Regions from separate parts of the Homo sapiens genome. Here region 1 is linked to region 2. Evidence: promoter capture Hi-C in human tissues and cell types (Jung and others, 2019). All regions are on one chromosome and are shown on one strand. The core of a region is centred on a gene start or on the middle of the fragment in contact, and the rest is flanking DNA. Distances in the headings are between cores, read along the strand shown.

Evidence for each region. The method cuts DNA at HindIII sites, captures the fragments that hold promoters and counts their contacts. A contact is called where the count stands out against the background at its distance.
Region 1: a contact is called between a fragment that was not itself captured here and the fragment with the promoter of LRP1 in region 2, in 1 of the 25 tissues and cell types used here (hippocampus).

What each region holds. Positions count from the first base shown.
Region 1 is chr12:56,673,640-56,677,345 of GRCh38, forward strand. All of the region lies in intron 1 of PTGES3 (prostaglandin E synthase 3), which reads right to left. Among named protein-coding and RNA genes, the nearest start is that of PTGES3, 13 kb to the right of the region's middle. The HindIII fragment of the contact is 7,635 bases long and covers 1-3,706 here.
Region 2 is chr12:57,126,261-57,129,752 of GRCh38, forward strand. It overlaps LRP1 (LDL receptor related protein 1), which reads left to right and starts at 2,223. Exons shown (of 89, transcript NM_002332.3): 1 at 2,223-2,771. The coding sequence starts at 2,705. RefSeq lists an enhancer at 1,230-1,883. The HindIII fragment of the contact is 3,919 bases long and covers 1,282-3,492 here.

The sequences.
Region 1 (3,706 bases), core at 1,145-3,644, 450 kb before region 2:
AAAATTAGCCAGGCACAGTGGCAGGCGCCTGTAATCTCAGCTACTTGGGAGGCTGAGGCAGGAGCATCGCTTGAACCTGGGAGGCGGAGGTTGCAATGAGCCGAGATTGCGCCATTGCACTCCAGCCTGGCAACAGAGCGAGACTGTCTCAAAAAAAAAAAAAAAAAAAAAAAATTAGCTGGGCATGGTGATGCAGGCCTGTAGTCCCAGATACTTGAGGGATGGGACTGAGGCACAAGAATCACTTGAACCCGGGAGGTGGAGGCTGCGGTGAGCTGAGATCATGCCACTGCAATCCAGCCTGGGCAACAGAGACTCTGTCTCAAAACAAACAACAACAACAAAAAACACTGGTACATCAGAGCTTCACTTTTTACATTAAGTTCACTGAAACCAGGAGAATCAATCTCCTTTCCTCAAATTCAGCAATCTAGAATTTTATCAGTTTCCTCAAAATTAATACATTGAAGTCCTAACCCCCAGTACATCTTAAGAATGGGATTGTATTTGGAGAAAGTGTCTTTAAATGACAAGTAAATATGAGGTCTTAGGATAGACCCTAATCCAATGACTGTTGTCCTCCTATATAAAGAGATTAGCACAGAGGGAAGAAAGAAGATAGCTATCTGCAAACCAAGGAAAGGCCTCAGAAGAAACTAATCCTGCTGACACCTTCGCCTTGGATTTTCAGCCTCGTGGAAATGTGAAGAAATAAATTTCTGCTGTTTAAGCCACCCAGTGTGTGATACTTTCTTATGAAAGCCTTAGCAGGCCAGGCGCGGTGGCTCACGCCTGTAATCCCAGCACTTTGGGAGGCGAGGCAGGTGGATCACCTGAGGTCGAGAATTCGAGACCAGCCTGACCAACACGGAGAAACTCGTCTCTGCTAAAATTACAAAAAATTCAGGCGGGCACAGTGGCTCACGCCCATAATCCCAGCACTTTGGGAGGCCGAGGCAGGAGGATCACAATGTCAGGAGATTGAGACCATCCTGGCTAACACGATGAAACCCTGTCTCTACTAAAAATACAAAAAATTAGCCAGGCATGGTGGTAGGCGCCTGTAGTCCCAGCTACTCGGGAGGCTGAGACAGGAGAATGGCATGAACCCAGGAGGCGGAGCTTGCAGTGAGCTGAGATCAGGCCACCGCACCCCAGCCTGGGCAACAGAGCAAGACTCCATCTCAAAAAAAAAAAAAAAAAAAAAAAAAAAAATTCGCCAGGCGTGGTGGTGCATGCCTGTAATCTCAGCTACTCAGGAGGCTGAGTCAGGAGAATCGCTTGAACCTGGGAAGTGGAGGTTACGGTGAGCCGAGATCAGGCCATTGCACTCCAGCCTGGGCAACAAGAGTGAAACTCGGTCTCAAAAAAAAAAAAAAAAAAAAAAAGTGCTGGTTCACACCTGTAATCCCAGCACTTTGGGAGGCAGAGGCAGGCGGATCACGAGGTCAGGAGTTCGAGACCAGCCTGGCCAATATAGTAAAACCCCGTCTCTACTAAAATTGCAAAAATTAGCTGGGCGTGGTGGCACGTACCTGTAGTCCCAGCTATTTGGGAGACTGAGCCAGGCCAATCAGTTGAACCCAGGAGGTAGAGGTTGCAGCGAGCCAAGATCACGCCACTGCACTCTAGTCTGGGTGACAGAGCAAGACTCTGTCTCAAAAAAGAAAAAGAAAAAGAAAAAGAAAAAAAGCCTTAGCAAGCTATATGATCATGTCCCAGATAAAACAAATTTAAATTATCAAAACCTGTGGTTAGGCCATGAACCAAAAATGATTCCTACATTTTTTAAATGTATATTTTTAAAAAAACACAGGAGGCGGAAGTTGCAGTGAGCCAAGATCACACTACTGCACTCTAGCCTAGGCAACAGAATGAGACCAAAAAAAAAAAAAAAAAAAATGTGAATGAGATAAGAGATATTTGTGGCCTGCAAAGCTGAATATTTACTGGCTGACCCTTTATACAAGTTGGCTAACACATTAAAACTACAAACAGGGCCGAGTGCGGTGGCTCACGCCTGTAATCTCCAGCACTTTGGGAGGCTGAGATGGGTGCATCACCTAAGGTCAGGAGTTCAGAGACCAGCCTGGCAAACATTATGAAACCCCATCTCTACTAAAAATACAAAAAATTAGCTGGGTGTGGTGATGGGCACCTGTAATCCCAGCTACTCAGGATGCTGCAGCAGGAGAATCGCTTGAAATAAGGAGGTGGAGGTTGCAGTGAGCCCAGACCACGCCATTGCACTCCAGCCTGGACAACAGCGTGAAACTCCGTCTCAAAACACAACACAAAAACTGCAGACCAGGCGCAGTGACTCAAGCCCATGATCCCAGCACTTTGTGAGGCCAAGGCTGATGGATCACCTGGGGCTGGGAGTTTGAGACCAGTCTGACCAACGTGGAGAAACCCCGTCTCTACTAAAAATACAAAATTAGCCAGGCGAGGTGGCGTATGCCTGTAATACCAGCTATTTGGGAGGCTGGGAGGGGGAGGGGGAGGGGGAGGTGGAGGTGGAGGTTGCGGTAAGCCGAGATCACGCCACTGCACTACAGCCTGGGCAACAGAGAGAGGCTGTGTCTCCCCCCCCAAAAAAAAAAAAAAAGCCAAAATAGGATTGGAACCCAGCATTTCTGACAGAAGGCTTATTTTTTTTCACTTCACAAAAAGGGACAATAATTTCTCCAGCGGTCCTTTTATTGCAAAGTAACTAACCATGTCTCTGTACTTCCAGTTTGTTTTATTATATAATCTAAACTAGCTTCTGCATACTTGACAACATGATAATGGAGTCCTGAGAGTCTAAAATTTGTTATGGAGGCAGTGAGAGAGTGATATTTGACCTTGAGTCTTTCTTGAACAAAGAAAAATTCTTTTATCTCCTGGGGATGTTAAAAGAAGAATGCTTCAGGGTCTAAAACCAAAGCAAGAAAGTAATTTTTTTAAAAAAAGAGTGCTCAAAAGACGGAATGTGGAAAGCCACAAGAGTTGCTTGATAGAAAAGTGCTAAGTGGGTATGCGTGGTGGTTCATGCCTATAATCCCAGCACTTTGGGAGGCCAAGGCAGGTAAATCACTTGAAGTCAGCCTGGACAACATGGTGAAACCCCATCGCTACTAAAAATACAAAAATTAGACAGGCATGGTGGCGCGCTCCTATAGTCCCAGCTACTTGGGAGGCTGAAGCACAAGAATCCTTGAACCCGGTGGTGGAGGTTGCAGTGAGCTGAGATCGTGCCACTGCACTGCAGCCTGGGTGAGAGAGTGAGATTCCGACTCAAAAAAAAAAAAAAAAAAAAAAAAAATAGTGCTGGCTAAGTGCGGTGGCTTATGGCAGTAATCTCAGCACTTTGGGAGGCTGAGGTGAGCAGGTCACCTGATGTCAGGAGTTCAAGACCAGCCTGGCCAACCACCGTGGTGAAATCCCGTCTCTACTAAAAATGTAAAAATTAGCTGGGCATGGTGGTGCACACCTGTGATCCCAGCTACTAGGATGGCTGAGGCGGGAGAATTGCTTGAACATGAAAGGCAGAGGTTGCAGTAAGCCAGATAGCGCCACTGCACTCTAGCCTGGGCGACAGAGTGAGACTCCTTCTCCGCACCACCCAAAAAAAAAAAAAAAAGTGCTACATTTTCCATAAAACATTACCTTGAACAGCTTTCACCTTTGTATCTTAGAGTGGAAACTACCACATAAAATAACT
Region 2 (3,492 bases), core at 973-3,472:
AGGCCACTGCACTCCAACCTGGGCAACGGGGCAAGACTCCGTCTTGGGCGGGGGGGAAACCTCTGCTGGTAGGGGAGACCTGAAGAACTGTTAGTAGAAGTTACTCTGAGGGTGCAGCTGAAAAATGGGGGTGTGGAGAGCATCAAGTTTCCTTTTACTTTTTACCTTCCTGTACTTTTTTTAACCACTAGGTATTATCTTTTCTTTCTTTCTTTTTTTTTTAACAATATAAAGTTAATAAAAATACACATTCACATTCAGGAGACAGCAGGGGATGGGAGGTTGCAAGTGAGAAGTGCATGCTGACTGAGGCCAGGTTTTGGAAAGCCATGACTGAAGAGGAGTTCACATTTGACTGGTCTATAGACACCCACTAGAGGTTCCCCAGCAAGGAAGAGACACCGGGAAAGCAGTTTTTGGAAGATTCACCTGACAGATGGGTAGGGGGAGGGAGGAAAGCCCCTTCAAGCCCTCAGGCTACATGTGGTTGCTCCAGATACCGTTTTCCTCTCAAAGCTGTCAAGCTGTCTAAAGTCTGTTTCGACCTGATTTCACTTGGATCCCAATACTGGGAGGGGCCCTGGGAGGAACCTCGTAGGCATTTGGTGAGTCCGCATAGTGCGTCTCACATTGTGTTGGGCCATGGGAGCTGGATAAAAGGAGAAATAAGACCCCGTTCCTGCCTGGAGCAACTCTCTGGCAGTGGAAATGGAGGAAATCTGAGATATACTTCAGAGGAAAAAAATGACAAGCCTGGAGCACAGGCTGGCAAGATTGGATATAGGAAGGAAAGGCCCCCTTGAGTTGGCATAAAGTCTGAGGTTTCTAGCCCAGGAGACTAAAGGCAGGTGGCCACCGCGCTGAGCAAAGCCGGCTGGAAGAAGCTAAAGGTTGAGCTCACTGTCATTAGGAGGCAAGTCCTTCGTGCTGCTCCTGTTTCTGCCAAGGACAGACTGGAGTGGGGACTTTTCCGTAACTAGAACGTAAAAGGGGGAACAGTCCCTCCTCTCCAGCGTCAATTTTTGGCAGCCGACGTCGTCTGCCCCGCTCCTTGAACTCTGACATGCAGACACCTAGAAAGTCAGACACTAAGGTAACAGCCATAAAACGCCGCCCAGAAGGGGGCAGTGACCAAAAGCACGTTCACTGGCCCCTGGGAACCGCCTGGCGCCTGCCTTCTGCAAAGTATCATTCCCGTGTGGGCTGAGCCTGGGGACAAAGGTCCGGCGCTCAGCAGACACCTCCTTGGAACCCGAGGCCTGGAAACGAAGGTCCAGAGTCCCTCATCTTATTCCAAATCCTGGCGCTCGGAATCTAAAACCCTAACTTGATGGCAAGCCAGTCAGAAGGTATTAAAAAAAAAAAAAAAAAAAAAAACAGAAAAATAAATGAGCCCCGACTTCTTGGGCGAAAGGGGGTGGCCTTTCCTCAACCCCACCCGCTGGTGACTCACCTCCCTCCAAACCAGGGCCTGCCCCTCCCGCGCCTAGGGCTGGGCGAGCAGGGCGGGCGGGTACTAAGGTGGGCTCCATCCCCGAGCCCCACGCGGGCGGACAAGCTCCGGCGTGTCCCCTCGGGTGTCCCTGTTTACTCCGAGCCCGGGAGCGAGGTGGGGGCGGGTCCTCGCGGTCCCTCCCCAACCCCGCCCCCTCCTTCGCAGGCCCCAATCCCAGTCCGGTCTTCCAAAGTCTCCAAATCAAAGCTCAGCCTTTCCCTGCACCTTCCCCGCGGACTGGCGGTCCCTGTCCCCACCCCGGGCAGAGGAGGCACCTTCAGGGTTCCCCTAGAAAATCGAGCCTCGGCCCAGACCACTGAGTCCCGGACGCCCCCGGAGGGAGCCTGAAATCCTAGAGTATGACACTGAGTTTCAAAGGGGAGCCGCTCAGCTCTCCGCCCACTGCCCAATCCCACCCTCGACCCCTTCTGCTCTCTGGAGCACCAGGGAGGAGGGCCCAGCCAGGGGAGAGGGCGCCCCAGGCCCCAAACTAGCCAGCGAGTCCCCGGGACCCTCACTCTTGGACCGCTTTCCAGAACTCCGAACCCTGTCGCGGGTCCGCGTCGCCCTCCCCCGGGCAGCGCGTCAAATCGGCGCATGCGCACTCACTGGATTGCCGCGTAGCTCTTTCTCCCCCCACCCACCAACCTTTTTTCTTTCCCCGCCCCTTCCCTCCCTCCCTCCTCAACCCGTCCCCTCCCTCTCCCCCATCAGCCCCCCCCTCGGCACTTCAGTCCGGGGAACAGCGGTGCGAGCTCCAGGCCCATGCACTGAGGAGGCGGAAACAAGGGGAGCCCCCAGAGCTCCATCAAGCCCCCTCCAAAGGCTCCCCTACCCGGTCCACGCCCCCCACCCCCCCTCCCCGCCTCCTCCCAATTGTGCATTTTTGCAGCCGGAGGCGGCTCCGAGATGGGGCTGTGAGCTTCGCCCGGGGAGGGGGAAAGAGCAGCGAGGAGTGAAGCGGGGGGGTGGGGTGAAGGGTTTGGATTTCGGGGCAGGGGGCGCACCCCCGTCAGCAGGCCCTCCCCAAGGGGCTCGGAACTCTACCTCTTCACCCACGCCCCTGGTGCGCTTTGCCGAAGGAAAGAATAAGAACAGAGAAGGAGGAGGGGGAAAGGAGGAAAAGGGGGACCCCCCAACTGGGGGGGGTGAAGGAGAGAAGTAGCAGGACCAGAGGGGAAGGGGCTGCTGCTTGCATCAGCCCACACCATGCTGACCCCGCCGTTGCTCCTGCTGCTGCCCCTGCTCTCAGCTCTGGTCGCGGCGGCTATCGACGGTGAGTGAGATTCCGCGTCCCCCTTGGACCCCTGGGGGCACCCTCTCCCCAGCCCCCACTCCTGCATACGGATGGGGAAGGGAGACGCGGGAGGGGGTGCCTTTTGTTATCCCAGTCCAGCTGACACAGCAGCGGCCCGACTGGGGGCGGGGATGGGGTCCGATTTGGGGGATGGGGGCCCTGGGCAAATGATGCTTCCGGGGCCCCCCAGCACAAACAAAGACCAGAGGCCTGGGTAGAGAGAAGAGGGCTCCCCATTTTTCTGATCCTGGGGAGGAGAGGCCTTCTTTTCCTATCTCTGTTCGGGGAGGGCCTCCGCCTCCCCTACATCCTCACAACCCCCCACCCCCCATCTGAATTGTGAAGGAATCCGGATTTGCAATGTTCGGCTGCAAAAGGGGGTGGGGGTGGGGGGGGTGGCTTTTGCACTGGCCTCTGTAGCTCGAAAGGGGAGCCAGGCCAGGGGTACCCTGCCGGGCAGAGGGCAGGCAGGCCCGGGAAGGCTGTGGGTGGGGAGAGGGAGGGCCCCCTGCTTGGGCGTGGAATCGACCCCAGAGCCCCGGCTGGAGGCCTGGGTGCTGAAGTAGGCTCTTCCCCCTCTCAGGGCCTCTGTCAGTAGCCTGGGGTAGGGCTGTGTTGGGGGGCAGAGAGGGGGAGCTCGCCATACTATGTGACTTTGAATTTTCCTTCTTAATTCCTGGGAGCTTTGAGATGAAAAAAC